7 separate regions of the Homo sapiens genome follow, and regions 1, 2, 3, 4, 5 and 7 are each linked to region 6. Evidence: promoter capture Hi-C in 16 types of primary human blood cells and fetal thymus (Javierre and others, 2016). All regions are on one chromosome and are shown on one strand. The core of a region is centred on a gene start or on the middle of the fragment in contact, and the rest is flanking DNA. Distances in the headings are between cores, read along the strand shown. Region 1 overlaps S100A11 (S100 calcium binding protein A11). Region 2 has its middle 9.5 kb from the start of S100A10. Region 3 has its middle 7.6 kb from the start of THEM4. Region 4 overlaps THEM4 (thioesterase superfamily member 4). Region 5 overlaps THEM4 (thioesterase superfamily member 4). Region 6 holds the start of SNX27 (sorting nexin 27). Region 7 overlaps LOC124904421 (a long non-coding RNA gene).

The links. Contacts are between HindIII fragments. The CHiCAGO score rates a contact against its expected background, and 5 or more counts as called.
Region 1: a contact is called between a fragment that was not itself captured here and the fragment with the promoter of SNX27 in region 6, in 2 of 17 cell types (neutrophils and non-activated CD4 T cells). The highest score is 5.3, in neutrophils.
Region 2: a contact is called between a fragment that was not itself captured here and the fragment with the promoter of SNX27 in region 6, in 1 of 17 cell types (fetal thymus). The highest score is 5.1, in fetal thymus.
Region 3: a fragment that was not itself captured here is called in contact with the fragment with the promoter of SNX27 in region 6 in 3 of 17 cell types (M2 macrophages, naive CD8 T cells and total B cells); the score reaches 6.2 in M2 macrophages.
Region 4: a fragment that was not itself captured here is called in contact with the fragment with the promoter of SNX27 in region 6 in 3 of 17 cell types (M1 macrophages, M2 macrophages and total CD8 T cells); the score reaches 5.9 in M1 macrophages.
Region 5: a contact is called between a fragment that was not itself captured here and the fragment with the promoter of SNX27 in region 6, in 2 of 17 cell types (naive CD8 T cells and M2 macrophages). The highest score is 5.2, in naive CD8 T cells.
Region 7: a fragment that was not itself captured here is called in contact with the fragment with the promoter of SNX27 in region 6 in 1 of 17 cell types (M2 macrophages); the score reaches 5.0 in M2 macrophages.

What each region holds. Positions count from the first base shown.
Region 1 is chr1:152,030,709-152,033,625 of GRCh38, reverse strand. S100A11 (S100 calcium binding protein A11) reads left to right here. Exons shown (of 3, transcript NM_005620.2): 3 at 803-1,120. The coding sequence ends at 964. Among named protein-coding and RNA genes, the nearest start is that of S100A11, 4.8 kb to the left of the region's middle. The HindIII fragment of the contact is 2,987 bases long and covers 1-2,917 here.
Region 2 is chr1:152,001,960-152,004,747 of GRCh38, reverse strand. No RefSeq gene overlaps it. Among named protein-coding and RNA genes, the nearest start is that of S100A10, 9.5 kb to the right of the region's middle. The HindIII fragment of the contact is 485 bases long and covers 1,209-1,693 here.
Region 3 is chr1:151,915,730-151,918,446 of GRCh38, reverse strand. No RefSeq gene overlaps it. Among named protein-coding and RNA genes, the nearest start is that of THEM4, 7.6 kb to the right of the region's middle. The HindIII fragment of the contact is 3,893 bases long and covers 1-2,717 here.
Region 4 is chr1:151,868,013-151,871,093 of GRCh38, reverse strand. THEM4 (thioesterase superfamily member 4) reads left to right here. Exons shown (of 6, transcript NM_053055.5): 6 at 1-228. Among named protein-coding and RNA genes, the nearest start is that of THEM5, 16 kb to the right of the region's middle. The HindIII fragment of the contact is 1,301 bases long and covers 1,075-2,375 here.
Region 5 is chr1:151,893,672-151,896,390 of GRCh38, reverse strand. It overlaps THEM4 (thioesterase superfamily member 4), which reads left to right. Exons shown (of 6, transcript NM_053055.5): 2 at 1,197-1,383. Among named protein-coding and RNA genes, the nearest start is that of THEM4, 14 kb to the left of the region's middle. The HindIII fragment of the contact is 652 bases long and covers 1,091-1,742 here.
Region 6 is chr1:151,610,377-151,613,454 of GRCh38, reverse strand. It overlaps SNX27 (sorting nexin 27), which reads right to left and starts at 1,405. Exons shown (of 12, transcript NM_001330723.2): 1 at 943-1,405. The coding sequence starts at 1,253. LOC124904420 (a long non-coding RNA gene) reads left to right here and starts at 87. Exons shown (of 2, transcript XR_007066622.1): 1 at 87-264; 2 at 1,056-2,938. RefSeq lists a silencer at 1,050-1,489 and an enhancer at 1,530-1,629. The HindIII fragment of the contact is 5,045 bases long and covers 1-2,910 here.
Region 7 is chr1:151,934,305-151,937,244 of GRCh38, reverse strand. All of the region lies in intron 1 of LOC124904421 (a long non-coding RNA gene), which reads left to right. Among named protein-coding and RNA genes, the nearest start is that of THEM4, 26 kb to the right of the region's middle. RefSeq lists an enhancer at 22-667. The HindIII fragment of the contact is 2,082 bases long and covers 435-2,516 here.

The DNA.
Region 1 (2,917 bases), core at 191-2,690, 420 kb before region 6:
CTTCCCCAAACTACCCACAACATGAAACAAGACCCTGGCAGAATGGCCAGGAATGAAGGAGCAGCAACTGACACCCCACACTCTTGCTTCATTTTAACTCACTCTAAGCCAGGAGTTTTTCCATTTAGGAAGAGAGATATATGAAATGGTATATGACGTAATGGAATTATTTTCAAATTTCATTATTCTACCCCAGAGGTTCTATGGCAGCCCTGTCCAGTAGAACTTTCTGCAGTGGTGGAAATACATTCTATATCTGCTCTATCCAACATGGTAGCCACCAGCCACATGTGTCTGCTGAGTGCTTGAAATGTGGCTAGTGTGACTAACAGACTGACTTTCTAAATTAGTTAATGTAAATGTAAATGTAAATAGCCATTTGTAACCAGTGGCTCTAAGTCTGTATCTGTGTTGGCAGCTTGGGCAAGTGGAGGATGAGACTGATTAGGCAGGGCCTGTGGCCTTTTTCCACCTGAACCCGCTGTACTTTTATATAGTTTATCTATTGGAGTTGCATGCAACACTTGAAAGAAGTGTTCCACTGGCTTTACAAAACTGAATAGCCCCTAATATCATAGAAAGAGCCCTGGACTAGGAGTGGGAAAACCTTTGGTTCAAGGCCCAGGTCTGCCCCTTAGGCAGGTCACTTCACCTCTTTTAGTCTGTTTCTGCATCTGGCAAATGGGAATATTAATAATCCCTATCCTGTACCTTATACTCCTGTGAGAATAAAATGTGGCAGCATATTTGAAAGCACATTAGAAGATGCGATATAAAGGTGTAATTATTATTTTCTCTGCAGAACCAGAAGGACCCTGGTGTCCTTGACCGCATGATGAAGAAACTGGACACCAACAGTGATGGTCAGCTAGATTTCTCAGAATTTCTTAATCTGATTGGTGGCCTAGCTATGGCTTGCCATGACTCCTTCCTCAAGGCTGTCCCTTCCCAGAAGCGGACCTGAGGACCCCTTGGCCCTGGCCTTCAAACCCACCCCCTTTCCTTCCAGCCTTTCTGTCATCATCTCCACAGCCCACCCATCCCCTGAGCACACTAACCACCTCATGCAGGCCCCACCTGCCAATAGTAATAAAGCAATGTCACTTTTTTAAAACATGAACTAGAGAGTTGGTGAATTTGTGCATGGGAGGGTGGAAAGTGGGAGGAATATAAATTAGATTGATAGAAGCTGCATAGTAAATAAGAAAAAATGCATCTTGGGTGTACACATAATCATGACTAATAGTACAACCAGATTCATCTCTAAATTATTGACTGATGGAGAGTTGTCACTTATTGTTATTGTTTACTCACTGCTACCCGTTGGCACTGTCATAGATCCTGAGAATACAACCAGCAAGACAGACAAGGTCATGCCTTCACTGAGTATAACTTCTCGTTGGGGGAGAGAACAATGACTAAATAAACAAAGGACTATCAGAGTATGATAAATCCTAGGAAGGACAGATTACAATTATGTTACAGATTCATGGGGACTAAGAGGGCACTATTCTGAGGACATGACATTTGTGCTGAGATATGAAGAACTAGAAAGAGCAAACATTTGAAAAGAAGAAGAGGGCATTTCAAGAGAAGAAATGGGAAGGGCAGAGGTCCTCCAAAGATAAGAAGGATCTAGGATGTTTGTGGAATAGAAAGGAGGCTCGTGTTGCCAAGGTCTTCATGTTTGGCTTAAGCTAGTGTTAACACTAGTTTTAATTTTCTAAGCCCTCTGATAAAGCAGCAGGGAAAGAGAGCCTAGAAAGAAGGTAAGAAGACTGATCCAGGGTTAAAGATGACAGATTAGAGGAGAGAGAGAGAAAGAGGGGCAGGTTTCCGCAATGTGCAATTATTCCTAAGAAGCACAGCGAAAAAGTGATGTGTATCCAGAAAACCTCTGATTCCTTATCCATTTATGTGAGTTTTAACTAATTAGCAAAAATCTCTCTAGATTATGGTTTATTCCTTCATAAATTCAGTGAGATGGATTAGACCATATCTGAGGTCATTTTTGGCTCTGACATTCCAAAATGAAGGCCAGCACCTTAGGGTGAGCCACTGCCTCAGCCGTTTACAGTTGTCTCAGCTATACCTGTAGCAACTGCAATTATCTTCAGTACATTTGAATCATCCAGTCTTTGAAAAGAATTCAATTTGACTTTCATAAAGATAAAAACTATCTCTTCACATACATATTTTATTGGTTTATGGGATATTTAATTAAATTATACCTTACAAGAAAAACGGGCCAGGCGCGGTAGCTCACGCCTGTAATCCAAGCACTTTGGGAGGCTGAGGCAGGCAGATCACGAGGTCAAGAGATCGAGACCATCCTGGCCAACTTGGTGAAACCCTGTCTCTACTAAAAATACAAAAATTAGCCGGGTGTGGTGGCGGGCGCCTGTAATCCCGGCTACTTGGGAGGCTGAAGCAGGAGAATCACTTGAACGCGGGAGGTGGAGGTTGCGGTGAGCTCAGATCACACCACTGCACTCCAGCCTAGCAACAGAGCAAGCTCCGTCTCAAAAAAAAAGAAAGAAAAAAAAGAATATAAACAGGTTTGGGACCGATCACAAATACACTCTTAGTGAACACATGATCCCACTGTTGGGTTGGTGCCCAAGTGTGTGGGCTATTAGAATTATCCATAGGCCTTGGACATTCATCGTTCTACGGCCACAAGTCAACATTTTTTTTTAAGAGAGAGAGAATGGAGAGATGGTAAAATGGGTCAGTTAAGAATCTGAAATAAGGCAATGAAGCGGGAAGGGAGGGGAAGAGTATGTAAGAGGTAAAACCCAAGAGATGATGATTATCTGAATGTAGTGGTGAGAAAGAGAAGCCTAGGATTATTCCCAGCTTCCCAGCATGGACAATTGGTTGGATGATGATACAATTCACTGAAATCAGGAATGAA
Region 2 (2,788 bases), core at 202-2,701, 390 kb before region 6:
CTTCCTCAGATGCCTCAGGACCACTCTTCTTATCATCCTGTGTTGATCACTGATTTATGGTTCCTGCCAAAATCCACTGAGAGCATACTCTGCTCAGAACACACAACACACCAAGAGAAATCTCTCCCCAATGAACCAACAAGCATCAAGGGAGACAAATGAGCAGATAGGCAATTTCCCTACTCTATGATAAGGGCCACGAGAGGCTAAAGGAGCAACACCCAACCCCAGTCTAGGTGAGGTTGGGGAGGCTTCATGGTGGAAATCACATCTGGCCAAATCCTAGCGGCTGTCTGGTCCTACAATCTGTCCCCAGCCAGTATGTCTACCTTCTGGCCTCCTTTCACTGCCTTCCATCACCACTTGTCTCCTCACCTGGAGTGTGAATTCCTCAAACGGAAGGACCATGCCGCCTTCATCTGTGCATTCCCCACAGCACCCAGCCCAGCAGCTACAGCCAAATGACAGACTCCCAATCTAATGCCCTCACCACTAGATGGCTGAGCCTGGCTGGGGAAAACTATGCTGGAGCCAGACATCCTGCCAGAGTTCCAGCCTGACTGTAAGCTGTGCAGGGAGCCATAGAGTGTTGCCCAGGAAAGAGTTATCTATGAACCGACAACTGAGAGAACCAGTGTCTACACACCCTTCCTTGCAGGTCACCACGTCAGGGGTGGGGCAAACAACTTAAGACTAATCACAAAGCAGGTTGTTTTCACCTAAGAAACCCCACCAGCAGCTTAGCAGCTTAGTCTGCACCTTCCTTCCCAAACCAGTGCTCCTCCCTGCATTTGGCAGGCACCAGAGCACAAGGTGTCCAGGTCTGAAAACTTCTGGCAGTTCTGCTCCTTCCTCTCCCTATGGCCAAGAGCTCAGTAGCAGTAGCCTGCAGATTCTTCCTGTTCTTTCTCTCAAATCTGTACCTTCTCATCCACCCTTGCCACCATCATTCCAGGGTGGGCCTCCCTCATCTCCTGGCCCTCATTTTCTCCCAGCTTCACCCCATTCTCACATCACAGCTGCTCTCTCCTCCACAGCTGGCCGTGGTCCCTCCCTCTATGATTTCACTGTGTCTACCAACACAGTGATCAAAGGAGAAGGAGGCTGGGAAGAGCTGAGGGCTATAGGATGATCTCTGCTTAAAGACACAAGCGGCTCCAGAGACTGGTAAATTTTGAGAGAGAATCAGAAGCCAGAAAAAAAAAGCTTAGGTTTCATTGCAGAGTGGTCAATTTTTTAGCCTGGAATTCAAAAGCATCAATAATCTAGCCCTCATCCCTCACCCAATCCCTCTTTCTAGCCACTCTTGCTGTTCCTCCAGTGTGTCCTGTGCATACTCCCCTTGGCATCTTCCCTCGTGTTACTCCTCCCCCAGGACTACTCTTCTCTCAGCCCCTGTCCCATATGCTCAATCAAGCCTATCAAATCTGACCCAACCTACAAATCTCACTTCAAATCCTATGTCACCCATGAAGTTATTCTTAAGAGTCCAGCCAAGAGGGAGCCTGCTGTTCTGAAGTCCCCCGTGCAGCACTGCCCACACATGCTACCTCACCTCAGTGCTGGTTGTGAACACTTCTCATGTTCCTGCCCAGATTGTGGTTATGTTCCCAAGCAGCTGTCATCGCTGTGGTTCTACCAAGAGTAAGGCAGAGTCGGGTGGTGACAAGAGGGGAGGCTTTGAGACTAAGCTTATCTGGGTTCCAATAGGACTATATCAATGCCCTTAGGGAAGTTATGTAGCCTCTCTGAGCTTCCTTTCCACATCTGAAAACAGACTGGCTATCTATTTTACAGGGCTTTTGTTAGATTTACAGATAATATACATAAACCACAATAATTATTACTATAATCATAGCACTAATCGACCTAAAATATTTCTTGGAGTGATCATAAGAAACAAATAAGATAACATATGAGACAGAACTTCATAGAATATAAAATTATTGTGTTAATTTTTAACAAGAAGACTTGGAGTATGTTTGTGGGGGTTTTTTTGTTTTGTTTGTTTGTTTGTTTGTTTGTTTTTGGCAGAGTCTCGCTCTGTCTCCAGGCTGGAGTGCAGTGGTGCGATCTCGGCTCACTGCAACCTCCGCCTCCTGGGTTCAAGTGATTCTCCTGCCTCAGCCTCTCAAGTAACTGGGATTACAGGCATGCACCACCACACCAAGCTAATTTTGTATTTTTAGTAGACACAGGGTTTCACTATGTTGGTCAGGCTGGTCTTGAACTCCTGACCTCAGGTGATCTGCCTGCCTCGGCCTCCCAAAGTGCTGAGATTACAGGCATGAGCCGTGTCCAGCCCATTTGTGTTCTTCTATCAAATGGCCATATGTTGGTCATATGACCATACATTGGTCACATGATACAAGACCTCACAGATGCCCCACTAATTACCAGCCAGTACATCCTCCAACAGCTAAGCACTTTAGCTTTCAGAATATCTGTGCTCAAAGCTGTTAGAATGAATTCACTTAAAAGTCAACCAATAAAACTGGTGGAATCCTATGCTCAAACTGAGGTTTTGGTCCATATGGTACCAGACACTAGTTCAACTTAACAACCTATTTTCACCTATATATATATATATATATATATTTTTTTTTGGCGTCTTGTACACAGAGCATTACTTTTCTCACTGCTCAAGCCCAGAGAAATGCTGCCAAAAGCAAGAGAAAATGGGGTAGGATGTCAACCTAAATCACAGCCTCCATCTCAAGCCAACTAGGTAATCTTTCCAGCCCCATATTCAATCCTCTGGTTTCCAGCCAAGGATTTCCTGCCTGGG
Region 3 (2,717 bases), core at 115-2,614, 310 kb before region 6:
ATAAAACAAAACCTCATTCTATAAAACAGAATAGTGTTCCAATGAGCTGAGCAGAGGAGATTGGTTTTACAGACAGAAGGGCTGAAGAAAGCAGAAACAAAGAACAAAGAGCGGATAACTCATTTCACAGTTACTTTCCTTGTACAGTGAGAAGAGGAAACAGAACAATGGAGAAATAACTAATTGTTAACATCAGGTTACATTTTTTGGTAATGATTAGGGCAGACGAAACTTTATTATCATGCCCGTTTGGGAAATTAAGCTGTTCTCTCTCTCCTGATTTCTAGGAAGATCAAATAACAACTTAGTTTTGGTTTGGTTACATTAAACTTTAGTATGACTGGCTCCATTTTGATTTTTATTCTGATCTGCTGGGGCCTAGTGCAGGAGCTTAGTCCAAAACAATGGCCTCCTATAATTTTTATTTAACAATTTTCCCCTTTTGGTCAAGGCTCAAGTGAGAACCTGACCAAAACTAAGGGCATTGGCACTAGTCTCAGTTACCATCATTTTAGGTTTCCAGTCTCAACACATCATTCATAGGTTAGTGTCCTCATCATCATGCATTTCTTTGAGTTTTTTGTTATTCCAGCCAAAGACAGACTATTTGACATTCAACAGATGGCTGTATGCAAACATTTAAAACTTTTTTTTTTTGAGATGGAGTCTCGCTCTGTCACCCTGGTGGAGTGCAGTGGTGTGATCTCAGTTCACTGCAACCTCTGCCTCCCAGGTTCAAGCGATTCTCCTGCCTCAGCCTCACGAGTAGCTGAGACTACAGACACGCACCACCATGTCCAGCTAATTTTTGTATTTTTAGTACAGACAGGGTTTCACCATGTTGGCCAGGCTGGTCTCGAAATCCTGACCTCAGGTGGTCCGCCCACCTCAGCCTCTCAAAGTGCTGTGATTACAGGTGTGAGCCACCACACCCGGCCACAAACATTTAAAACTTTTTGAGAGCATACAGTGCAACAGACAGACTACTATTATTACTCTCAGGAGGATATTATCAAGAGTCTGGAGTATGCTCCTTAGCTAGGGTCCTCATGAAACAAACCAACTAAAATAGAATAGATTGAAGAATGAGCCAGATGAGGAGTATATCGATCTTAACCAAGTAGCCAGTCTATTTTTTCAGCCCAGTCTCTATGATACCTGATGTATTTATCCCTGTGCAACAAGAAGTGTTAGCAACTGCAATGATTCCTTCTTGTTCAGCTAATAGAAAATCTCATGACTGAGTTAAAGTATGGAATGACAATTTGCAAGTCACCCACAGAAGCTACTGATTGTGAAATTCTAACGATAGCATTATTCTGCCAGACAAAAAAGATAGGCATAAACAAGGAAAAATTAAGGGAAATAATAGTCTCATTATGGCAGGGTCTTGTTCTGACAGTTTTGTCTGTTTGTTTATTTGTTTGTTTGTTTTTTGGAGACAGGGTCTAGCTCTGTCACCCAGACTGGAGTGCAGTGGCAGTGGCATGATCTCAGCTCACTGCAACCTCCACCTCCTGGGCTCAAGTCATCCTCCCACATCAGCCTTTTGAGTAGCCGGGACTACAGGCATGCACCACCGTGCCTGGCTAATTTTTGTATTTTTTTTAGAGACGAGATTTCGCCACGTTGCCCAGGCTAGTGTCAAACTCCTGGGCCCAGCAATTCACCTGCCTCAGCCTCCCAAAGCACTAGGATTACAGGCATGAGCCATTGCACTCAGCTGTTCCGACAGTCTTGAGAAAAACTCCCCATGATAAAGTTAACAACTCATGTGGGTTTGTAGTTTGAATGTCTCTGGTTATGGCATCGGGCAGTTTGGTGAACTTGGTGTGGTCCACACATCGGGCATGAGGCTTGTCCCTTAAAATTTACATTGAGTTGTCCAGCTTCAGCTCTGGGGCTTTAGGAACAGAGCAATTTTTGTTCTTAGTTGGAAAATTATAGCCAGATACTGAAGGAAACTAGAATACAGGATCCAGTCCGGTATACAGGTAGACAATAAAAATTTGAAAACAATGAATAGGAGTAAAACCTAATAACAGGTGTACTATAGTTTTTCCTCAGAAACATAATTATTCTCTTTACAGTCACCCCCATTTCTATCAAAGATAAACACTATAAGACTCATATGTTTGCAACATAAATTTAGTCTCATCAAACTTGATCGTTAGACTTTCTTCTCAGTATTTAAAAAACAGAAAGCACCATGTTTCTTTAAAAACAATCCTTTCTTCACCTCTGGCTGCTGTCCTCTCTTCTCACTATAAGAGGTCTGAAGAGTAGTCAGTCTACTCCTGTTTGTATGTTTACCTCCCACTCATTCCTCCAGCCTCACCTCCCCACCTCAGCTGCTCTTACTGATGTCTCTAATATGTTCTGTGTTCTAAAAAAAGGACACTTTCAGGCCTTTATCTTAAGTTCCAAACTATTCTATTATCTCTGCGGTACCTTCAACACAACGTATCCAGAAAAGAACTCACTTTTCTTCCCTGTGCCCCTAAACATACTCCTCCTTTTCCCTTTCTAAAGGGTACCTCCACAATTTGTAGTCCAGGAAACCTGGATAACATCTTAGTCCTCCTTCTTTCCCCTGCCCTTGGCCTCATCCATTACCAAATCCCCTCACTCTATCAATCCCCACAAAGCACTCAAGTGTTTCCTTGATTCCAATGCAATTTCCCCGGAGCCTCTATCATGATCCTTCTAAAATATCA
Region 4 (3,081 bases), core at 476-2,975, 260 kb before region 6:
CTCAGCCTGCCAAAGTACTGGGATTACAGGCATGAGCCACCTTGCTCAACCTGTTTCCTTCTTTATACCAAGTGCTAACATTTTGAATGAATATTAGGAATTGATGCTGGTTAGTGCTAAAATATCTTTAAACTATCAGTGTAAACATAATTAGGCCGTGAGTTTTTGCTCTTACTCCCAGGTTTCTAAATGTCTAAGAAACAATAAAATGAGAGTCATGTACAGAAATATATTGTTGGAAGAATTTTTTCAAAAAGCAAAATAAGATTAAGTTTTTTCTCTAATGGGAAGATGGAATGAAATATATAAGTTAAGAAAAACCTTTTCTTCTGTATTAAGGAAGCTCATATCCTACATGTTCCTATGTTCCCTATCCCATTACCTTCTCAGGACGCTTAACCTCTTCTGGGGACTTATGAAGCCAAATTATTGTCTTACCTAATGGATGACCATCATGGGACCCTAGTCAAACATATTTTTCAGGACCAAGTATACAACATCCTCTGTGATGGAGACAATGAGGCAATCTTTCAAATTTAAGTCACTAAAGTCATGAATTTTATGTCTCAGAAAAGTTTGAAATTTCACTTGATAGTATTCTTGGTCTGGCACTACTCTGGCCAGTTTAGAATTACAGAATTGGTTTATTCCTTCTCAATTATAGATTTAAAATTAAGTGGACTGCAGACAAAGATACCATAAGAGGAAAAAAAAAGTCAAAACTACAGATCAATATCCCTTACGAGTATAGATGCAAAAATACTCAACAAGATAACAAGCAAATCCAATAGCACATTAAAAAGATTATATGCTATGACCAAGTGAGATTTATCCCAGAAAGGCAGAGGTGGTTCAACATAAGAAAATAAATCAATGTAATACACCACATTTATACTTCAAGAGAGTAAAACCACATGATCATCTCAATTGGTGCAAGGAATGGCATTTGACAAAATCCAACACCCTTTCATGACAAAAAGCACTCAGAAAACTAGGAATAGAAAAAGACTACCTGAACATAATCTAGAAAAATGCACAGCTGGTATCACACTCAGTGATAAAAGACAGAAAGCTTTCCCCTAACGTTAGGAAAAAGGTAAGGATTTCCACCTTCACTACTGCTATTCAATATAGTACTGGAAGTCTTACCCAGAGGAATTAAGCAAGAAAAACAAAAACAGCTTGCAAATTAGAAAGGAAGATGTAAAATTATCTCTATTTGCAGATGACATGTCTACATATAGAAAATCCCAAAGAATTCACCAAAAAAACAAAACTAGCACTAATAAATAAATTCAGCAAAATTGCAGGGTACAAAACTTCATTGGCTGGGTGCGGTGGCTCAAGCCTGTAATCCCAGCACTTTGGGAGGCCGAGGCAGGCGGATCACAAGGTCAGGAGATCGAGACCATCCTGGCTGACATGGTGAAACCCCATCTTTACTAAAAATACAAAAAATTAGCCAGGCATGGTGGCGGGTGCCTGTAGTCCCAGCTACTCAGGAGGCTGAGGCAGGAGAATGGCATGAACCCGGGAGGCGGAGCTTGCAGTGAGCCGAGATTGCGCCACTGCACTCTAGCCTGGGCGACAGAGCAAGACTCCATCTCAAAAAAAAAAAAAAAAAATTCATCTTTTGTGCATTAAAGAATAATATCAGTGAAGTGAAAAAAAATCCCTACAGAATGGGAAAAATATTTGCAAATTATATATCCAAAAAGGTGTTCGCATTCAGAATATATAAGGAATTCTTACAACTCAACAACAAAGAACCCAGTTTAAAAATGGGGGAAGAACTTGAATGGACATTTCTCCAAAGAAGATATGGAAATGGAAATGGCTAACAAGTATATGAAAAGAGCCTCAACATCACTAATCATTAGAAAAATGCAAATCAAAACCACAATGACCACACCTACTAAAATGCCTATAATTTTTTTATTTTATTTTATTTTTTTTTTTTGAGATGGAGTTTCGCCCTTGTTGTCTAGGTTGGAATGCAATGGCGCGACCTGGGGTCACTGCAACCTCCGCCTCCCAGGTTCAAGTGATTCTCCTGCCTCAGCCTCCCAAGTAACTGAGATTACAGGCACCCACCACCACACCTGGCTAATTTTTTTGTGTATTTTTAGTAGAGATGGGGTTTCACCATCTTGGCCAGGCTGGTCTATAATTTTTCGTTTTTAAAAACAGTGTCAAGGAGGATGTAAAAAAAAAAAATAGAAACTTCATACATTGCTGGGTGAATATAAAATAATGCAGCTGCTACGGAAAATTTGGCAGTTCCCCAAAAAGACATACAATTACTATATGACCCAGCAATTCCACTGCTAGGTATAAATAAAAGAGAAATGAAAACACGCATCCACACAGAAGCTTGTACACTAGTGTTTATAATAGCATTATTCGTAATAGCCAAAATGTGGAAACAACCCAAATGGCCATTAATGAATGAATAGATAAACAAATTGTAGTACACACACACACACACATAATAGACTATTATTCAGCCATACAAAGGAATGAAATACTGAAACATGCTGCAGCTTGGATAAACCTCAAAAGCATCACATTAAGTGAAAGAAAACAATACTATATTTAGAATAGGCAACTCCATAGAGACAGAAAATAGATTAGTGATTGATATGGTTTGGCTGTGTCCCCACCCAAAATCTCATCTTGAATTGTAATCCAAATTGTAATCCCCATGTGTTGGGGACAGGACCTTGTGGAAGGTGATTAGATCATGGGGGCAGTTCCCCCATGCTGTTCTCGTGGTAGTGAGTGCATTCTCATGAGATCTGATGGTTTTATAAAGGGCTTTTCCCCACTTCACTCAGCACTTCTCTCTCCTGCTATGTCAGGAAGGATGTGTTTTCTTTCCTTTTTGCCATGATTGTAAGTTTCCTGTGTCCTCCCCAGCCATGCAGGACTGCGAGTCAATTAAACTTCTTTCCTTTAGAAATTTACCCAGTCTCGGGCAGTTCATAGCAGTGTGAGAATGGACTAATACAGTGCTTGCTAGGGGAATGAGGGTGGTGCGCATGGAGGAGAGAACAGGAAGTGATTTAAGTGATTACTTAC
Region 5 (2,719 bases), core at 167-2,666, 280 kb before region 6:
AAAGAAGTTTAATTGACTCACATTTCTACAGGCTATACAGGAAGCATGATGGTGGCATCTGCTTGGCTGCTGGGGAGGGCTCAGAAAACTTACAGTCAGCCGGGCACAGTGGCTCACTCCTGTAATCCCAGCACTTGGGGAGGCCGAGGTGGGCAGATCACCTAAGGTCAGAAGTTCGAGACCAGCCTGTCCAACATGGTGAAACCTCATCCCTACTAAAAATACAAAAATTAGCCGGGTGTGGTGGGGCGGCACCTGTAACTCCAGCTACTCAGAAGGCTGAGGCAGGAGAATCACTTGAACCCAGGAGGTGGAGGTTGCAGTGAGCCAAGATTGCGCCACTGCACTCCAGCCTGGACAACAGAGTGGGACTCTGTCTCAAAAAAAAAAAAAAAAAAAAAAGGAAGCAAGAAAACTTACAGTCATGGCAGAAGGCAAAGCAGGAGCAGGCACTTCACATGGACACAGCAAGAGCAAGAGTGCAAGGCACAAGGTACTATACACTTTTAAACAACCAGATCTCATGAGAACTCACTATCATGAGGACAGTACCGAGGAGGATGGTGCTAAACCGTCCATGAGAAATTCACCCCCATGATCCATTCACCTCCCACCAGGGCCCACCTCCAACTTTGGGGATTACATTTCAATATGAGATTTGAGCGGGAACACACATCCAAACTATATTCCAGTGTTTTTTTTTTTTTTCCTGTAATACTTTTTCCAGCTGGCTAATTTCTGCTTATCTAATCAATATTCAAGTCAAAGAACCCCTTCCTGAACCCCTAATCCTAGATGAGTACTTCTCCCTTATCCCCTAACTTCCTGTGCATAGCCACTGGAAGCACTTTCAACATGGAAGATAATGCCTGTTCTTAACCTCCATCTCCAGTGTGCTGGGCTTACCTGTGCTTGATTAAAGTCTGGAAAAAAAGAATGGAATCAGCAGACCTGAGCATAATCCTGGCTCTGTCAATAGCTCGCTGGGTGATGTTGAGCAAATCATTTTCCCTCTCTCAGTCTCTCATTTTCCCAAGGAGGTTGGACCAGATGATCCCTGAAATTCCCTTCCATTTTGAAGTGACAAGCTTATGGGGAGAAGAAAAGCAGCAAGATAATCTTAGAAATTGGGAGAATATGTTATGAAATAGAATGCACCTCCCATTACTTACTTTTCTTTTTCTTCTGTCTTTTAGAGGTCATTTTCTTCTGAGGAAGTCATTCTTAAGGACTGTTCTGTCCCCAACCCCAGCTGGAACAAGGACCTAAGACTGCTCTTTGACCAGTTTATGAAGAAATGTGAAGACGGCTCCTGGAAACGTTTGCCTTCATATAAACGTACACCTACTGAATGGATTCAAGACTTCAAAACCCATTTTCTTGGTAGAAACAGCCACTTTCCCATTAATATATCTGAGCATCAAATATAAAGCTAAGAACAGATTGAAGTACTAGTTACTACCTGAAAAAAAGAAAGAATATAATGCAGGATTATGGTTCTATAGTCACCAATTTTATAGACCAGAAATCACAATAAATTTTGCAGATTGGAGAGCATAAAGCCTATTGTCAAGAATAAGACTGCTCCCACCCTGGCATTCTTATCACCATTAGCAAGAGTGAAGAAAGGGCCCCAGAGAGCTTCCACCCTCCTACAACCTCATCACCTCTCCGTCTTGAGGCTGTCATCTAATCTCATTTCACCCTTTATCCCATATCTGGTTATATCACCCTAAGAAGCTTAGAACACTCAGGTTATACCCACATCTCCCAGTATCTAAATCCCCAGGGCAACCCACCCAACACCCAAAACACACACATAGCAATTCCTATCCTTCTGTGTTTTTTTACTAATATACTTTTTTAGCATTATAATTTTATAGAAAAATTAGCCTAAAGTACAGAGAGTTCCCATATACCCTTTATCCCCTCCCCACCCCTAATTTCTCCTATTATTAACATCTCACATTACTGTGGTGTATTTGTTACAATTGATGAGCCAATATTAATATATTATTCTTAATTAAGGTCCATAGTTTGTTTTAGGGTTCACTCTTCGTATTATGTTTTCCGTGGGTTTTAACAACTGTGTAATGACAGATATCCATCATTATAGTATATTTGAATCATTCACAGATATTTCTGAGTTACTCATTATCTTTTAATCATCCAAACACATCTTTAGGTGGTGGTTGGTTTTTTTTAACTGACTTTTAAGAAGGCCCTTGGGCCAGGCACCGTGGCTCATGCCTATAATCCCAGCACTTTGGGAGACTGAAGCGGGCGGATCACTTGAGGTCAGGGGTTTAAGACCAGCCTGGCCAACATGGTGAAACCTCGTCTCTACTAAAAATACAAAAAAAATTAGTTGGGCCTCGTGGCGGGGACCTGTAATTCCAGCTACTTGGGAGGCTGAGGCAGAAGAATTATTTGAATCCAGGAGGCAGAGGTTGCAGTGAGCTGAGATCGCGCCACTGCACTCCATCCTGGGCAACAGAGTGAGACTGTCTCCCCCCCTACAAAAAAAAAAAGAGAAAAAGAAGGCTCTCAATATTGCCCAACAACCATACTTCATGTTTCCCTAGTTTATTCACTCTCCTCCCTTACTGGATGAGTATTTTCTGCCTTTTTCTTTCTTCTTATGCCTCTAATACTTTCCCTTCTCACCCTCAGTTGGTCTCGCTTCCTATCTCACTAAGAGAAAATAAAAGCAGTCAGA
Region 6 (3,078 bases), core at 156-2,655:
CGGTCAAAGACCCAAAAAGGGCTTGAAGTAGTTTTGAAGGAGGAGGAGTTACAAGGGGTCTACCATAAACCTGACTAGGAGGAGGCATGAGTATAGAGCAGGAGTGAAGGCAGGAGGCCAGGGAAGGGATGCTCTCAGAGGGGTGTGCTGATGGAGACGCTAGATTCCAAATTAGGGTGTGATACGGGGCCAACCGAGAAGAGAAACTACGGTGTCAAATCCCACGCCCCCCACCCCAAAGGCATGCAAGGGTCAGAAAGCAAGGTAAACTCTTGGAGTAGAAATACAAAAAGGAGGGGAGGAAAGGGGCACACGGTGGGATGGAAAAATTTAGGGGCAGCGTAACCATGAGGAGAGGGTAACTAAGGAAAGAAAAAGGAGACGAGCGGGGAGGGATGGTGTTTCCGGAGGAAAAGTAGGAGCAGACCAGAGGTCCTGCCTACTTGGTCTGGAGGGCAGAAGGGGCAGTCCACGGGGGCGGAGGGGAGTGGTGGAGAACGAAACTGCGATGCTGAAGATGAGAACTTGGGGGGGACACGGTACTGGCTGGATCAGAAAACGAAACGCCGTCAGTAAGGAGCAGATGAGGTTCCTTCTGAGCAAGACGAGGGGGAGTGAGGAGCAGAATGCAGCACGCCAAACGGGAAGGCAAAGGGGCGGAGAAGAGCCCAGAGTAATCGGGGCACAGGGAGGAGCACTGGGGGCGCAAGGGCATCAGCTGGAGACGACGGGGTGGGAGACCGGCGTCGCAGAAGCCCCGGGGCGGGTGGTGGGAGGGCAGCCCACAAGGAGGGGCCCGGCTGCGGAGGCCTGAGGGGCGGGGGTCCGGAGGCCGGCTCGGAGCTCGGGGGAGGTGCGGCCTGGGGGTGACAAGGGTAGCGAGGAGTGCAGGGGCAGGAGGGGCGCGGGGAGGATGGGGCGGCGGGTAGCCCCGATACTCACACCTCCAGGATGCGGTCCCCCTTGCGCACCCCGGCCCGATCGGCCGCCCCCCCGGGCAGCACGGCGCTCACATGCTGCAGCGGCGCGTACAGCTCCCCGTTGATGCTCCGCAGTTGCCCGCCCTCGCTCACTTGGCCCCGCACGTTGAAGCCGTAGCCGGACTCGGACTTGACGATGCGCACGACCCGCGGGCCGCCGCCTCCCCCGCCGCCGTTCCCGGCGCAGTGGAGCCCAGACCCCCCGCCGCCGCCGCCACCTCCGTTCCTGTGAGGGGCTGAGGGATGAATCCCTTCCCCGTCCTCGTCCGCCATCTTGCGAGCAGGCGAGCCGTACCCCCGCCCCCTACGCCTCCAAGGCCTCCCGGCGCGTGCTCGCCCTGCCTGGCAGCCGGACGACCCCCGACGCGCGCGCCCGATCCGCCGGCCGCGGGACCGACTCGGCCACCGAGCTGCTGGCGCGGGGTGAAGAGGAGGCAGGGGGCGGGCGAAAAGCGGACAATCGGGCACCGTGGGGCCTCCTGGGAGATGTAGTTTATGGGTGGCGGGGGCGGGGAGCGGTCTGGGCCTGGGCCTGAGCCGAGGTTATAAGACGCAGTTCGGAAGCAAGGCCTGCCGGGAGTTGTAGTTTATCTTTCATGCTGGGTTAGGAGTTTGATCTGCTGGGTGGGGAGAGTATAACCCAGCACCCAGCGTGGTAAAATGATTCAGTTCTTGATGCGGACCAAGTTTTTCGCCCCCCCCCCTTTCATTTCATAACCTCTAAAAAACAATAATGTTAGAATAACTTAACGTTTGTGATTCAACACAGTCTTAAATTATATCAACTCATTTTTTGGCACAGTAACTTATATGTTGACCAGGGCCCAACAACCTGTGAGGCAACCGGATCACGATTAGCTTCCCTATTTTACGTTATTAGGAAACAACCTTAGAGTGCTCAAAGTCATCCAGCTACTAAGTATCAGGAACTAAGGCCCAGTTATTGTGCAACTTTCTTGTCCTGTATTGCAACTACAGTCATGTGCCACATAAGGACATTTTGGTCTACAATGGACTGCAAACACGAGGGAGGCCCCCTAAGATGATAATGGAGCTGAAAAATGTCTATCACCTAGTGGCACAGTAGCCACCATAAGGTCATAGCACAAGCATTACTCACATGTTTGGAGTGATGCTGGTGTTAACAAACCTGCACTGCCAGTCATGTGAAAGTATAGCACATATGATTATGTACAGTACATAATACTTGATAATGGTAAGAACTATGTTACTAGTTTATGAATTCACTGTAGTTTTTATCACTATTTTAGAGTGTACTCCTTCTACTTTTTTTTTTAAGTTAACTGTAAAGCAGCCTCAGGCAGGTCCTTCAGAAGGTATTCTAGGTATTCTAAGTATTGTGATTTTTTTCCACGTATTCCAAGTATTGTGTTTTTTTGTTTTGTTTTGTTTTTTTGTTTTTTTTTTTTTTAAGATGGAGTTTCGCTCTTATCGCCCAGGCTGGAATGCAATGGCACGATATCGGCTCACCGCAACCTCTGCCTCCCAGGTTCAAGTGATTCTCCTGCCTCAGCCTCCCAAATCCCTTGCGATTAAACGCATGCGCCACCATGCCTGGCTAATTTTTTGGTATTTTTAGTAGAGACAGGGTTTCACCATGTTGGCCAAGCTGGTCTCGAACTCCTGACCTCAGGTGATCCAACCACCTCAGCCTCCCAAAGTGCTGGGATTACAGGTGTGAGCCACTGTGCCTGGCCCCAGTTATTGTTACCATCAGATGACAGCTCTGTGCATGTTATTACCCATGAAGACCTTCCAGTGAGACAAGAGATGGAGGTGGAAGACAGTGAAATTGATGATCCAGATCTGGTGTAGGCATAGGCTATGTTTGTGTTTAAGTCTTAGTTTTTAACCAAAAAAAAAAGTTTAAAACATAAAATTAAAAATTGCCTTAAATAGAAAAAAAGCTTATGGAATAAAGATATAAAGAAAGAAAATATTTTGTACATCTGTACAATGTGTTTGTGTTTTAAGCTAACTGTTATTACAAAAGAGTCCCCCCAAATTTTTAAAGGCTGGGTGTGGTGGCTCATGCCTGTAATACCAGCACTTTGGGAGACCGAGGTGGGAGGATTCC
Region 7 (2,940 bases), core at 226-2,725, 320 kb before region 6:
TATAGAGACAATTTTAAAACAGTATATTTTAAATTTAAAATTTACATTTTAGGAATATATTTAGACACTTAAAAATAAAGGAAATAATCTTAAGAGGGAAAAAAGACAGGGGGGAGGGTGGATTATAAGAAATAAAGAAGCTTAGTTAAAGTAAGAAGCAAATTATAATTATAGTGGACAGTGTTAGGAAGAAAAGAAAGGGAAACGTGATAGGGAAACAGCAGGGAGGAAATTGAGACATCTCCTCTCTCCATCTGGAAGTTTCCCTTTGTCTTACTCCTACCCTTCATCCCCCAACAGAGGGCTATCCCTATCACCGTGCCCTTTGGCCCTATTGAACTGTGCTAAAGATAAATGAGTCGCAAGCTTCAGGGGGTGTCTGATGCTCCCTGCGGGACCTCAAGGCTACTTGCTTTCTTTTACTTAACGAAGCTTATCAGACCATGTTTGACCTTCATATAGAAACCTGGGTCTAACAATGAGAGAGTAAGTACAGGTTTCAACAGTTGTATTGTTGCGCGATTTTTAAGGAATTAGAGAGACTGATGGGGTTTAGAAGGATATTTATTAACTATTTAGGTGTATTGGCCCAGTCGGATTAATATTTAAAGGACTGAGTTTTGAATAAAGAGTTATTTTTTAAGTATTTTTGGGGGCAGGGGGAGATTTGTGCAGGGGGAAGCATATTATAGAAGAGAGAAACAAAGGCAGTTATTTAGTTAATTGAGACGTATTATATTATTTTTTATTTTTTAAGGAGAAACATGTTTTATGACTTGAGTTTGTTTAGTGACTTTGTAGTTGTATAGCTAGGGAAACAGGGTTTTTACAATGTTTGGGAAAGGAGGAGAGATAAGGCTTATTGGCCACAGAAAAACAGGCAGTTAATTTTTAAAGGACTCCAGCTCTTTCTCTTTCTCAGGGGGAATTGGGTTTTTTAATATACAACTGAGTTTTTGCTTATACACTCCTTAATTTCTTTTAATTCCTGTTCCAGTATGTTTCTGGGAATGATAATGAGATTAGCTTTGGCACTCTCCATATTTATTGAGAGATTTCACCAACATGTATAAAAGACTGGTAGTGTAGTTTGCTGTGATTTAGTTAAAAAGCATGAAACTTGTCAGAGAGATTTTGGTTTTAATTCCTGCTCCATAACTTACTAGTTGTGTGATCTTGGGAAAGCTCATAAATCTCTTGGAGCTGTTTCCTCACGTTTAAAAATGGAGGTATCTAAATAGATGTGTGAGAATTAAATGACATTATGGGTATAAAATGTCTCTCTTTCTTTTACCTTTAAACTCTGTTGAACTTGAAAAAAGTGGCTCATTTAATATCTAGTACTGGGAGCTCCTCAGTAAGTGGTTGCTTTTATTACCTCATTCCAAAGAGAAAAATATATTGTGGCCAGGCACGGTGGCTCACGCCTGTAATCCCAACACTTTGGGAGGCTGAGGCAGGCAGATTGCTTGAGCTCAGGAGTTCGAGACCAGCCTGGGCAACATGTCAAAACCCCGTCTCTACAAAAAATACAAAAATTAGTTGGGCATGTTGGTGTGCGCCTAGCTACTTGGGGAACTAAGGCGAGAAGATTGCTTGAGCCTGGGAGGTCGAGGCTGCAGTGAGTTATGTTCATGCCACTGCACTCCAGCCTGGGTGCGAGACCGTCTCAAGGAAAAAAAAAATTGTTAAGTGCTCTACAACCCTTGTGATACCAGAAACCAAGGGAATATAAGTAATAGTCTTGTGATAATCTCCCGTTCTTTATTCTCCCCACTTTGTTTTCCCCAGCCCTCTCCATGATGAAGATGGCTGCAGTTTCCGTGGTTTCTGCTATGGAATGAAAAATCCTACAGGCAGAGCCCATGCTTCCTGCAGCTGCCAGCTCTGCCCTGCCTCCTTCCCCTCCCAGCTCCCCTGTGAGAAGCACTATCCTCAGAATGACTCAACCTCATTTTCCAGGAGGGTCTTAGAACTCATTGTACTTTTTTCTTGCAACCGTAAATTTTCTGCAGTTTGTTCACCTAAAGACTTTTCACATGACAGGTTTCTATGTCTTAGAACCTACTTTCTCTGATCCTAATCCCACTCAGGGGAGGACACAAATATTGCACTTCAGTCACTTTTAATGTGTCTGCTGTACAATACCACCTGGCAGAGTACCCAAAAAGCAACAACTCAAAATCTAGCCCACCAGATATTCCATGAGATTTGATGGTGATGAGCACTGCAGTCCAGGGTTCAAGGAAAGCTAGGATGGGTATTCCTCATGGTAATTTCTGAGCAACTTTGAGTCACTCAACGTATTTCATTGTCTTCTAGGCGTATTTAGTCTTTCTATTGAATGTAAGAACTGGACAGAGAGGTGGGGAGCATCTTATCGCTCACTTTGCAAAAGAGGAAACAGCTCTGAGGTCTCATTTTACGTATCTATTGACTATTTTATACTCAGTTTGGAAACAAAATGATAAATAATAGAGCAATCTATCACTTTGTAAAATCTAGAAGACTAAGCTTTGAAGTTCTTCCAAGTCCCTAATTAGATAATAGTCATCACTTAAAGAATAAACTGTTAGGTATTGAGATAGATATAACCTGTTCATTTATTGACGAATATCAGCCTAAAAGTTTACCAGGAAATAATTTAAAATGTATAAAATCTTCCTAATTACTCAAAGGAAATTTATAATAGTCAAAAATTTTACCTACTAACCAAAAATCCAGAAGATTCAGGACAAAAATAAATGGAAGAATAGATAATTATCTAAATACACTTGTGGAGGTCAGAATAATGGGCCCCCAAAAAGGTCCAAGTAAGTCTCTGGAGTCTGTGAATACGTTACCACACATGGCAAAAGGGATTTGCAGATGTGATTAAGTAAGGATCTTGAGATGGGAAGATTATCCTGGATTACATGGGCAGGCCCAATGTAATAACAA